Linked DNA regions of Homo sapiens: all the other regions are linked to region 3. The links are contacts of gene promoters, found by promoter capture Hi-C in blood cells and fetal thymus (Javierre and others, 2016). All regions are on one chromosome and are shown on one strand. Each heading gives the region's core, a stretch centred on a gene start or on the middle of the fragment in contact. The rest is flanking DNA. Distances are from core to core; before and after follow the strand shown.

What was found. Contacts are between HindIII fragments. The CHiCAGO score rates a contact against its expected background, and 5 or more counts as called.
Region 1: a fragment that was not itself captured here is called in contact with the fragment with the promoter of NRXN2-AS1 in region 3 in 2 of 17 cell types (megakaryocytes and M2 macrophages); the score reaches 5.7 in megakaryocytes.
Region 2: a contact is called between a fragment that was not itself captured here and the fragment with the promoter of NRXN2-AS1 in region 3, in 1 of 17 cell types (M1 macrophages). The highest score is 5.2, in M1 macrophages.
Region 4: a contact is called between a fragment that was not itself captured here and the fragment with the promoter of NRXN2-AS1 in region 3, in 5 of 17 cell types (M1 macrophages, megakaryocytes, M0 macrophages and 2 more). The highest score is 8.6, in M1 macrophages.

The regions. Positions count from the first base shown.
Region 1 is chr11:64,460,554-64,463,982 of GRCh38, reverse strand. No RefSeq gene overlaps it. Among named protein-coding and RNA genes, the nearest start is that of LINC02724, 13 kb to the right of the region's middle. The HindIII fragment of the contact is 6,738 bases long and covers 1-3,429 here.
Region 2 is chr11:64,438,012-64,440,999 of GRCh38, reverse strand. No RefSeq gene overlaps it. Among named protein-coding and RNA genes, the nearest start is that of LINC02724, 9.6 kb to the left of the region's middle. RefSeq lists enhancers at 1-459, 992-1,523. The HindIII fragment of the contact is 1,208 bases long and covers 864-2,071 here.
Region 3 is chr11:64,642,005-64,645,204 of GRCh38, reverse strand. It overlaps NRXN2-AS1 (NRXN2 antisense RNA 1), which reads right to left and starts at 1,356. Exons shown (of 3, transcript XR_001748259.3): 1 at 623-1,356. All of the region lies in intron 17 of NRXN2 (neurexin 2), which reads left to right. The HindIII fragment of the contact is 13,173 bases long and covers 1-3,200 here.
Region 4 is chr11:64,499,730-64,502,993 of GRCh38, reverse strand. It overlaps LOC124902690 (a long non-coding RNA gene), which reads left to right and starts at 2,100. Exons shown (of 2, transcript XR_007062721.1): 1 at 2,100-2,973. The HindIII fragment of the contact is 292 bases long and covers 1,833-2,124 here.

The sequences.
Region 1 (3,429 bases), core at 363-2,862, 180 kb after region 3:
TTCTAGCAAGTCCAATCACCTCAAAGGATGAAGGCATGAACAAAAACAATGTTCCTCGGAAGAGATCCTAACTAGTCATACCACAGGAATGTTAAAAATCATTAGAGAAGATGATGAACAACTTTATGCTAATAAATATTAAACCTTGAATGAAATTGTAAGCAAAGTTTTCAAATAATATAAAAGACAGACCCTACTTATTTTAGGAAGATGGCATCACTAATATGTCAGTTGGACATAGATGGCATGAAAAAGAAAATTATAAGCCAATCCCCCTTTTAAACAGAGATATAAAAATCCTAAATAAATACAAGCAAAACAAATTAAGCAGTGCATTTTAAACATATATACATCATAACCAAATTGGCATTATCCTAGGCACGCAATGGTCAATTTTAGAAAAATATGTTACATAGAATTTGCCACATTAACAGATTAAGAAGAGAAAACATCACCATCTCAATAGATGCAGAGAACCATGTAATAAAATTCAGGCTGGATGCAGTGGCTTATGCCTGTAATCACAGCACTTTGGAAGGCCAAGGTGGGAGGATCACTTGAGGTCAGGAGTTCGAGACTAGCCTGGGCAACATGGCGAAACCCCATCTCTACCAAAAATACAAAAAATAAGCTGGGCGTAGTGTGTGCGCCTATAGTCCCAGCTATTCAGGAGGCTGAGGTGGGAGGATCCCTTGAGCCTAGGAGGAGGCTTCAGTGAGCCAAGATTGTGCCACTGCATTCCAGCCTAGGTGACAGACTGAGGCCCTGTCTCAAAATAAATAAATAAATAAAATAAAATTCAACTCCTATACATGATACAAACTAAAAATAGAAAGGATTTCCCTTAGTTTGATCAAAGACATCTATCAGAAACTCATAGCAGATAAGATTATTCATGTTAAAACATTAGAAGCATTACCATGAAAATTCAGGAATAAAATAAGGGTGCCAGCAACCACTCCTGTATTCAACATTGTACTGGAGGTCCTAGCCAATTCAGTAAGACAAGAAAAAGGAACAGTGTAATAATAGTGAGGTAGGAGGCAGAACTCCACTCCAGAGGCAGGGATCGGACATCAGGCCAAACTGAGGACTGGTTAAAACAGAGACCTGGCAGAAGCAGCTTTCCAGCAGACACTCCCACCAGTGTCCGTGTCAGCTTACTGTTGCCATGGTGACACCTGGGCATCACCGCTCTTTTCCATGGCAATGACCTGACAACCCAAAAGTTACTATCCTTTCCCTAGAAATTTCTGCATAAACTGCCCCTTAATCTGCATGCAATTAAAAGTAGGTAAGGGCCTGGCATGGTGGCTCATGCCTGTAATCCCAGCACTTTGGGAGGCCAAGGCGGGTGGATCACCTGAGGTCAGGGGTTCGAGACCAGCCTGGCCAACATGGTGAAACCCTGTCTCTACTGAAACTACAAAAATTAGCCAGGTGTGTAGTCCCAGCTATCTGGGAGGCTGAGGTAGGAGAATCACTTGAACCAAGGAGGTGGAGGTTGCAGTGAGCTGAGATGGCACCGCTGCACTTCAGCCTGGGCAACAGAGTGAGACTCGGTCTCAAAAAAAAAAAAAAAGCAGGCATGAATATGACTCCAGTCCTGCCCTGCCCTGCCCTGCCCTGCCCTGAGCTGCTACTCTTAGCACACTGCCTATGGGGTAGCCCTGCTTAGCAGGAGCAGTCACAGAACTGAAACTCCACCAGAGCTCTAACACTGCTGTTTCAATAAAGCTGTTTTCTTCCAACCTACCACTGGCTCACCTTTGAATTCTTTCCTGGGCAAAGCCAAGAACCCTTATGGGCTAAGCCCCAGTTTGGGGCTCACCTGTCCTGCATCAATAGGAAAGAAAAAAGCAACATATTGTGATTCTTTGCTGATAATAATATGATTGTTGACATAGAAAATCCAAGAGCTTCCACAAACTCTGAAAAGTGATAAAGGTTTGGCAGGGTTGCTGGATATAAGATTAATGTACATTATAAAAGATCAAGAATACTTCTATGCCCAGCAATAATTGACTAGAAAACATGTTATAAGAAGGCATCACTTACAATAGCAGCAAAAACAATGGGAACTGAGATTTCAAGAGAGGGAGTGATGTGTAGGATCTTTATGGAGGAAAGCATAAAATATTGCTGCAGAACACAGAAGTCATGAATAAATAAAGATCTATAGCGTGTTCATGGATAGAAAGACTCAACACCATAAACAAAACGATGCTTCCTAGATTAATCTATAAAGTTAACACAAGGCCAATCAAATTCTGAATGGGGCTTTTCAGGGAACTCGATAATATAATCCTAAAATGCAAATGCAAAATAAAGGGCCAAGAATAGCCAAAACAATTTCAAACAAGAGCAACAAGTCAAGGTATGAGGAGGGATTTCCCCTACCAGGTATCAAGACTTATAAAGCTGTGATCATTTAAACAATGTGATAGCAACACAGGATAGACAGATACACCCAGAATACTGAACCCCAGAAATCTGATTTAATAAAATCAGTAAGAAAGTGGATGGATAAAAAAAATCCTGTTTGGTCCATTGGTTGTCCATTTGGAACGAAATTAATGTAGGTTCCAGCCTCACACTATAGCAGACACCGGGGTGCCTAGGCCACTCTCCCTTCAATCCCCTGACCCAGTGCATATAAAGGTGTCCCCTGTGAACACCCATGGCCCTCTGAGACCCCAGGGCTTCCACTGACCTTGCAAGAACAGTAGCTGGAAGAACCAGGGAGTCATCGTCCCAGGAGTAGGGTCTGGTAGTGCTGGTGGTAATGGGCAGAGGCTGAAGGATAATACCACAGCTTCCTGGCCCCTCCAGAGGGACAGTTGTGGGGTATGTCTTACACCACCTCCCCACCATTCCCAGTGGCACCTGCTCATCAGTGCACCCTTCCTAGGACTTGCCTTCCCCTCTTCCACCCAAATCCTTGTCTCAGGATCAACCCCTGGGGAAACCCACCATAGATAACACTGGGCCAAAACCAAGGTCCATAAAGTTTCCAAAGATGAAAAGCAAAATTGTAAAACATTTATAAGTAGAAAGTACAAGAGAAACCTAATTTTGATCTCTGCACAGGGGAAGGATTTCTTAAATGCGATGTGAAAAGCACATCATAAAAGAAAAGATTGATAAATGTGACTATGTTAGAATGGGGTGTTTCTGTTCAACACAAGACACCATAAACAAAGTGAAAACAACAAACCACCGATTCAGAATAGATATCTGTAGCAAAAGATCGTGACCAGAAAATGTAGGAACATCCTAGGGAGAATGAAAATAAGACGAAAATGGGAAAATGGACAAAGGACAGAAATAGAAAATCCCCAAAATAGAAATACATAAATGACCAAGAAACAAAAAATACAGGTTCTGTCTCCATGATGTTTAAGGAAAAGCAAATTAAAACAATGAGAT
Region 2 (2,988 bases), core at 218-2,717, 200 kb after region 3:
GCCTCCTCCCTGCCTCAACCCAGAGAAAATCTGCTTCCCTCACTCCTGGATAGAAGACAGTCTACATTCCTCCATCGAACACTGAGTAAGCACCTACTGCATGCACCACACTGCCCTGCTAGGCCCTTCTCCCCACTCCCTACCCCTATGCACAGAAATGCTGGCTCGAATTCTTGCTAATATGTCACTTGGGCTGCTGGAACCTCTCCCCCAGAGATGGCTCTCAACAGGGTCCCAGGCCATTCAGGAAGGGTCCTGTCCCCATGAGTCAGCCACTGCAAAAAGGCACTCACCTAAAACTGTTTCCGTCCCTGTGGGCTCGGCGGGGCGGGGCTGAAGTCCTAACTCACCACCTCCTACGGCGTCCACACCCTTGCTGTGGCCTTGTCATGGGCAATGGGTACTTCCCTGCTCCTTGACTTTGAGGTTGTCCATGGGATTTGCTTTGGCCAATGGCACATAAGCAAAAGTGACCACCTGCCAGGTGCCAAGAAGCCTTGTATGTTCTGCTCTGAAAGAAGCATGTCCCAGCTGAGCCACTCATGCAAGGAGGATGAGAGACTCGTGGAGCTGCACTGCCCCACTGAGCCACAGACCAGCAGGGAAAAGTGGAGCTGCCTGAGCTGCCCCAGCCAGAAGCCCGCACCAGCCAAGCTCCAACCAATCCACAAAATCATGAGAACAAATCACCATTGTTCTAAGCCACTGAGTTTGGGGACCATTTGTTACATGACACTATTGTCCAGTAGCTAACTGATACATCCCATCACCTGAGAAATGTGTGATCAGGACCACATGAGGGGCACAACACCATGACAACCATTCAGAGGAGGGGGAGATCAATGTGGAAGAATCAAGAAGCTTCCTGAGCCACACACAGTGGCTCACGCCTGTAATCCCAACACTTTGGGAAGCCAAGGCAGGCAGATCACTTGAGCCCAGGAGTTCAAGACCAGCCTGGGCAACATAGTGAGACCCCAACTTTACAAAAAAAAAAATACTAAAAATTAGCCAGGCATGGTGGTGCATGCCTATAGTCCCAGCTACTCAGGAGGCTGAGATGGGAGGATCGCTTGAGCCCAGGAGCTCGAGGCTACAGTGAGCCGAGATTGCACCATTGCACTCCAGCCTGGGCAACAGAGCAAGACCCCATCTCGAAAAATTTTTTTAAAATTTAAAACAGGAGGCCTCCTGTTGCATGTCAGGTGCTGTGTAAGAGGCTCGTGCTTATTTGCATCAGCATCCCTGTGGTTAAGTGCCACTGCACTGGCCCCACTGAGGCTCCTTATCCCTACACGGCAGCTGGAGCTCAGCCGTCCTCGCCCAGTACCCAGGCACTCTCCGTCCAGCTGACTGCACCCTGCCCCTCCCTCCTGGCCCAGGCCTCTCCTCTGCACACCTGCCTGGCCCTTTCCAGCACTGCAGTTTGAGACCCCTGCTCTTCAGGGTCCCCGAGTCTCCCCAGCTCTGCGGGGAGTGGCTGTCTGTCCCTTTCAGGGAGGACGGTTTTGGTGCTGGAGAATTCACAGCTTCCCAAGGCTGTCCACCCACATTCCAGAGAGACAGGATCACTGAAACCATGGAACAGGTGAAATTGCCGAGGAAGCCCCTGGAGGCAAAAGAGCCAAGGACAGAACCTACGGGGAGACATCAAGGGGAGGAAGTGAGCCCCAGCCCCCAGGAGAGAGAGAAAACGTCTCAGAGGCCATGAAGAGGCCGTTTCCAGATGCTGCCGAGGGAGCAGAAGAGGAGCCTCCCCCCAGCGCTGGGCAGCGAGAGGGCGACGTGACCTTTGAGAATTCTGCTTCCCCAGCACAACCGGGCGAGAAGCTGGCTCCAAAGGGCTTTCTTCAAAGACTAGTACAAGCCCCTGAGGGCTCCGCTGATTGGACACGTTTCCCAGCCTGGTCCAAGGCCGCTGATGGTGTGCGCCCTCCCAGACAATACCAAAAGCATGGTCTCCATTCTCTCCAGAAAAATTGGGCTAAAATTGTACTGTTTCCTCTTTTTTCCCCTAGGTCACTGTATTCTGCTTCACTCCACATTCTTCTGTACAAAAGAGACCAAAGCTTATGAATAGGGTTGGGAGATGTCCCAAGGAAAAAAAAATTCAAAGCGCTTTGGTTTCTCTAGCTGTGGAATGGTCGCCCCTGGCTACCTGGGTCCATCAGTTCTTTTCTGGGAAAGTCCCAGGGGAATTGGCCAAAATCCTGCTCAGACCCATCCAGTCCCACCTCTGCCCCAGATACCAGAGTCCCTGGGGCAGCGGGGACATCAGTGGACTCATATTGCCCAATCCAGCTACTGTGCAGAGCCAGATTTGTGTTCCAGAAGTTGTTAAAATATCCTCAGAAAACAACAAAGGTGGCCGGGGGCATGGTGGCTCACGCCTGTAATCCCAGCACTTTGGGAGGCCGAAAGGGTGGATCACTTGAGGCCAGGAGTTCCAGACCAGCCTGGCCAACATGGTGAAACCCCGTCTCTACTAAAAATACAAAAATTAGCTGGGCATGGTGGCACGTGCCTATAGTCCCAGCTACTTGGGAGACTGAGGCAAGAGAATTGCTTGAACCCAGGAGGCAGAGGTTGCAGTGAGCCTAGATCACACCACTGCACTCCAGCCTGGGTGACACAGTGAGACTCCCTCTCAAAAAAAAAAAAAAAAAAAAAAAGAAGAGGCTGGGTGTGGTGGCTCATGACTGTAATCCCAGCACTTTGGGAGGCCCAGGCAGGCAGATCACTTGAGGCCAGGAGTTCTAGACCAGCCTGGCCAACATGGTGAACCCCATCTCTACTAAAAATACAAAAATTAGCCGGGTGTGGTGGCGGGCACCTGTAATCCCAGCTACTCGGGAGAGTGAGGCAGGAGAATTGCTTGAACCCAGGAGGCAGAGGTTGCAGTGAGCCGAGATCGCACCACTGCACTCCAGCCTGGGCAAGAGAGCGAGGCTCCGTCTCAAAGAAAAAAAAAAAGAAAGAAAGAAAAAA
Region 3 (3,200 bases), core at 107-2,606:
CTCAGAGCTGTGTCAGTCTATATTCCAGATCCAGGGGCCCAAGAACGTGATAGAGAGGGCAGGAGGACGTGGCCTCTGGGGGCCCCAGCCCTGCTCCTGGCATGCAGTCTCTCCTCCAGCACTGCATGGCTCGGGGCCCTGCACCACCGGAAGCCTCCTCTGGGTGCCTCTGAGGACCGCTTTCTTCACTTCTAAAGACCTGGGGGCCAAATCCAGCTCTGGCATGTAGTAGGGATGGAGGACTGGCAGCAGCATTGGGGAGATGTCCTGGGTCCTGACTGCATCCTGGAGCTGGGGGTGGCACATGGGGCTCGTGGTGACAGTTTTTGCTCCCAAATGGAGTTTAGAATCAATAAATAGGAGCCAGCTCTCTCCAGCCCCTCCCAGCCTCCTCTCTCCCAGCCCTCCCCTTTCTCACTTCACCCGCCCCTGCCTCCTGTCCTTTCCTTACCCAGCCCTCCTCCTCACTCCGCTGCACTGTTTCTTCAGCTCCCCCAGGTGCCCTCTCCACCTCTCTCCTCCTTTCCCTCCTCCTCTACCCTCTGCCTTCCCACCCTCTCCCCTGTCCGAGCAGGTTGGTGCATACGACCCGGTGACGGGAAAGGAGTCTCTCTGTGCTTACCTCTGGGGCCACAGGTGCTTTCCAGAGCGTCCAAAAGTTTGGGGGACAGAACCCAATTGGAGGGCATCCTGAAGGAGAAGTGGTTTCCTCAGCTTGACATACGTGGCCCAGGAAGGGTTTTGTCCTAAATGGGACACTCAGTGGGCAGGTGTCCTCTAGACCCCCCATGGAGGGAGAGGTTGGGGCTGGGGGAGGGGCAGTGGTAGTGGAGAGGAAGGATTGGAGGAGTCCAGGAGAGGCTTGTGCAGGGGGCTGGGGGAGCAGCTTTTTGGGGAGGTGGTGGGGAGTTGTACGTGTGTGGCATGTCTTATTCCTGAGTACCTCGAAGGCTCTGGGTGCACTGTATGCTGTGGACCCTATTTTGGAGGGTGAGCTTGGGGAGCAGGGGTGTCTGTGTGTATGTTGGCCATTCATGTCCTGTGATCAAACGTGTGTGTGCACGGATGTATGCCCTGTGAGCATGTGTATATGCTCCCCTGAGAGTAAGTTGGTGTGCCAGTGTCTGTGAGCACATGCATGCATGTATGTGTCTGAGCCTGTGTGCCTACCCGCACACTGTGCCCATATGGGCACGTGGATGTTTCCATACCCAAGCCGATACACATCTCAGTGTGCACGTGCGTTGCGAGGGGTGGTGCAGAGGTGGCCGCCGCGGCATCTCAGCAGGCTGTGCCAGAGAGCATTATTGGGGTTCATCCGGGTGGGGTGGGCGGGGAGGAAGAAAGTGGCCTCTCTTGCTAGCCTCAATCCCGTTCCATTATTCAGCAGGGTCCCTTCTCCAGGAGGGGGGTGCAGGAGGAGCGCGCGCGTCCAGGCGCGGGGGAGGGGCGGGCGCGCGCAGAGGAGAGGAGAGCGCCGAGCGGGCTAGCCAGGTGCCGCGCGGCTGAGCTGCCCAGCGCCGCCCGCAGATCGGGAGCCGCTCTGGTCCCTCCGCCCTGCCCCCTCCTCCTCCCGCGCTTCCCCTCCCCTCTCCGCTCTCCTCCTTCCCTCCCTCCCTCCCTCTCTCCCTCTCTCCCTCTCTCCCTCCCTCCCTCTCCCTTCCAGCCCTCTCAGCCTCTGCAGCAACACTTCGCTGCCTCCATCTCTCCGCCGGAATCTCGCAGGCTCGCGCCTTTCCTCGGCTCAGCCCCGCTCCCCTCCTCTCCTATCCCCTCCTCTCCTATCCCTTCATTCCCCCCTCACCCGGATTTGCTTCCCTTCCCCCTTCTCCCGCCCCCCCCTCCCCCGGCCGCTCCCTCCTTTCCCCCGGCCTCCGTCGGGCGGCAGCGGCAGCAGCGGCGCGGCCGGCCCCAGTCGCCGTCGGTCTCCCGCCTTCGGGGGAACCAGGTCTCCGTCCCTCTTCTCTCCTCCAGCCCGCACCGCCCCGCTCCCCAGCTCGGTTTTTCCGCAGGATTTCCCTCGCTCTCCCCTCCCTGCTTGGCCCCCGCGCTCCCCTCCCTCTCCACTCGGCACCATGCCCCCTCCCCCGGGCGCTCCCCCGGGTTTCTGACGGCCCTCTGCGCCGCTCCGACCCCGCCGGGATGCAGAGAGACCCCTAGCTCCTCGCGATGGACCCAGGCATCCTGGACCTTGGCGTTGCCGCTCCGCGGACCCCCGATTTCCCGGCGGGATCCAGTTGATTTTGTTGGCTCCGGACCGAGGCTTGGGCCCTGGTTTACCTCCGCTTCATCCCTACCCCGCTCCCGGAGCTCGGAGCCGGAGGGGGGCTTCGCGGGGCTGCGCAGCCCCGCGTCCCCGCCCCCGGCCATGGGGCTGTGAGGCGGTCGCCCCCGGGCCGAAATGCCCCCCGGGGGGAGCGGGCCGGGGGGGTGCCCGCGCCGCCCCCCGGCCCTGGCTGGGCCCCTGCCGCCGCCTCCACCGCCGCCGCCGCCACCTCTGCTGCCGCTGTTGCCGCTGTTGCTGCTGTTGCTGCTGGGGGCGGCCGAGGGGGCCCGGGTCTCCTCCAGCCTCAGCACCACCCACCACGTCCACCACTTCCACAGCAAGCACGGCACCGTGCCCATCGCCATCAACCGCATGCCCTTCCTCACCCGCGGCGGCCACGGTAAGTGGCACTGTAGATGCCGGCCACCCGGTTGGCCCGGGGGCGGGGGGCGCTTCCCGTGTGCGCAGCTGGGCCCCCGCGGGCCCCACCCCAGCTGTGCACGCCGAGCCTGGCCCCTCTGCTTTGCGTCCCGGAGCCCCTTCACCTCCAATCTCCAGCTCCCATCATCTCAGCCCCACCCTTGCCTCCATCTCTCCTCTCCCCCATCACCCTCATCTCTGTCTTCAGCACTTTGCTTCCTGGCCTCACCTAAACCTGCTTACCCCTAGGTCTGGTTCATTATCTCCTTCTACTTCCTTACCCTCCCCGCCCTGTCTGTCCTTTCATCCTCTCCGTGCAGCTCTGCCTTCCATTTCTCTTGCGCATCACCTTCTCCATCTCGGCCCCTTATCATCTCTCCATCTGTCTTGCCTCCACCTCTGCCTCACCCTCACCCTTCCATCGCTGGTCTGTCATCTCTCCCCCTTCACCTCTCTCCCACCTCTGTCACATCTGTCATTTCTGCCTCTGACATGTCTCTTCCTCCTTGACCTC
Region 4 (3,264 bases), core at 729-3,228, 140 kb after region 3:
CACAGACCTAGATGCAGACGCAGATGCAGACAAACGCAGACGCAGACACAGACACAGACGCAGACAGATACAGACGCAGACACAGACACAGACAGACACAGACACAGACCCAGACCTAGATGCAGACGCAGATGCAGACGCAGACAGACGCAGACGCAGACAGACGCAGACGCAGACACAGACACAGACACAGACACAGACCCAGATCCAGACGCGGACGCAGACGCAGACAGACACAAACGCACATGCAGACGCAGGTGCAGGCGCAGAGGCAGACATAGACAGAGATGGAGACGCAGACACAGACATAGACATACACACAGATCTCCCATGTTGGTTCTGTTTCTCTGGAGAACTGTAATGTGATGGGGAAGGTCCATTAAGCCCCTGAAAATTGCATGCAACATTTCACCTGCATGTACACTCTGTGTCTTCTACTGTCCAATAGCTTCCATCAGGTCTTCAAAGGGCTCACAATCTTCCATATAAAAGGAAGTAATTCACATTGGAGAGGGTCAAGAAAAATGTCCCATCATGTGTTGGCCAGTATTGATCTCTAGGCAGAGAAATTAGAATGTTATTTGATATATTTGGTTTTTAGTTATTTATTCATTTATTCAACTAAAATGTAGTGACCACTAAAACATGCCTGGCTCTGTGGTGTTCACTGCAATTGAGACTATGAGCTCTGGTGTCAGACTGCCTGGGTTCAAATCCTGGCACTGACATTTACTGGCTGTGTGATCTTAGGCGAGTTGCTTAGCCTTTCTGTGCCTAGGGTTCCTCATTTGTAAAATGGGTTTATTAAAACTTTCTCCAAGGGTTGTTGGAAAAATGTAAAGTACTTGAAACAATGTCTGGCGCAGAGTAAGTACTCAATAAATATCAGCCAGGCTTCATTAATTTAATTCATCAAGTAAAAATGTACTGAGCACCTGGTATATGACAGGCACTGTTCCAGGTGCTTGGGATATGCCTGTGAAGAAAATGGTAAAAATCTCTATGCCCGTGCAGCTGACGTAGACATAGACACAGACATAGACACAGTCCAATCGGGGAGACAGGAATAGAAAATAACCATAATCCAGAAGTAAATTACCTAGCTTGCAGGAAGGTGGTAAATGCTATAGGAATAAGACTAAGCAGAGTAACCGGGAGGGGGATCAGGAGTGGTCGGAAGTGCAATTACAAGTGGGGCGGTCAAGGTCAGTGTCGTCAAGAAGGTCGTGTATGAGTAAAGACTCAGTGGTGAGGGAGTCAGCCATACAGATTCTGGGAATATGCATTCCAGCAGAGGAAAGAGCCAGTGCAAAGGTCGCAAGGTGGGAGGTGTGGTCGATGAAAAGCAGGAGGACAGATGGGAGGTGGCAGAGTCATGGGTAGTAGGAGGAGACGAGGTTAGCATTCCACACCCCAGTGCACTGGACAGATAGCAAAACGGAAACAAAGATAGAATTGACTTTTTCCCTTTTTATATGTTTTCCAAATTTTCTTTAATAGGCATTTTTAAGCTGGGCAAGGTGGCTCACTCCTATAATCCCAATACTTTCAGAGGCTGAAGCGAGAGGATCGCTTGAGGTCAGGAGTTCAAGACCAGCCTGGGCAACAGAGGGAGACCCCTGTCTCTACAAAAAAGTTTAAAAATTAGCCAGTCATAGTGGAGCATGTCTGTGGTCCCAGCTATTTGTGAGGCTGAGGTGGGAGGATGGCTTGAGCCTGGGAGTTTGAGGCTGCAGTGAACCAAGATTTTGCCCCGGTACTCCAGCCTGGGTGACAGAGTAAGACCCTGTTTCAAAAAAGAAAAAAAATTTATATATATATATGTCAAAGCTTGGTACGGAAATCTTTTTGCAATAAAAGAAGTTTTGGAGTTGTGGAACAAAACTTTCAATATCCTCTAATATCGTCCTTCACTTTAGCCTTTTCAGGAATTTAGGATCTGGGACACAGGGCATTATGTGGTGGGGGCTCCTGAGCAGCACAGGCTTCTGTCCTCTCTCCCTTACCCACAAGCAGGCCCAGCCGGCCCCGGGAGCCTTTAGGGCAAGGGTCCCCAGCCCCTGGGCCACAGACTGGTACCAGGCCACACAGCAGGAGACGAGCGGCTGGGGAGCTAGTGAAGCTTCATCTGTTCTTACGGCCGCTTCCCCGTTGCTCACGTGACCACCAGAGCGCCACTCAGGTCAGATTAGTGCCGGCGTTAGATTCTCACAGGAGCACGAACTCTGCTGTGAACCCCGCATGCAAGGGATCTAGGCTGTGCGCTCTTTATGAGAACCTGATGCCTGATGATCTGTCGCCGCCGTCGCATTGCAGGAAAACAAGGTCAGGGCTCCTACTGATTCTACATTATGGTGAGGGGTATAATTACTTCCTTATATATTACAACGTAATAATAATAGAAATAAAGTGCACAATAAATGAAATGCCCTTGAATCATCCTGAAACCACCCCCACCCCCATCCCCCACCATCTGGAAAATTTGCCTTCCTCCAAACCAGTCCCTGGTGCTAGAAATGTTGGGGAGCGCCGCTTTAAGAGCCTCACAAGAGATCAGTCTTGAAGACGCAGTTGGGGTCACGTGACCCGAGTCCGCCCATCACAGGGCTGGCCCCGGGTGCCATTTTGAGAGCGTGCTCCTTCCTTAACTCCTCCTGGTGGGGCTAGAATTTGGTGGATTGGGTGTTTATTTGATGAGGTCGCAGCATTTGGGTCTAATTTAAAACTTAGGATGTTCTTTAAATGTTTCATTTCTTCTTTGGTTCATTTCCATGATGCTATGCCACCAAAGGGGAGCCTCTAAGGGATTTTCCTTCCAAAATGTTGTATTTTGCTGGAATTTTGCAATTTCTTTGTTAAAGAATCCACCCACTCTTCCATTGCTCTGCATTCTTTCTGAAAGGACGTATACCTTGTGCGTCCAGTGAGACCTGAATCATTGTTAAAGTTGGCCAGAGACCAACAGCCTCAGGGGTGAGTATAGCTTGGGCACCCGCCCCCCCACCCAAAGCTCTGAAGACAGAGTGGGAGCTTCTTGTGGCCGCCCCCACCCCAACCGTCCTTCCTTTGTGGCGTCCTTCTGGTTTATTCTTCCACACACAGCACTTGTTCTTTCCTGTGACTGTTGGGACACTCGTAACCGTTTATTTCCTTGTTTATTATCTCTCTCCCCCACACACCCAGGCTGTACACTCTAGGAGGGCAGGACCCCATCCTCTGCTCCCCACACTGTGCACCGTGCCAGGCCTTTGCTATGGGTGTGTT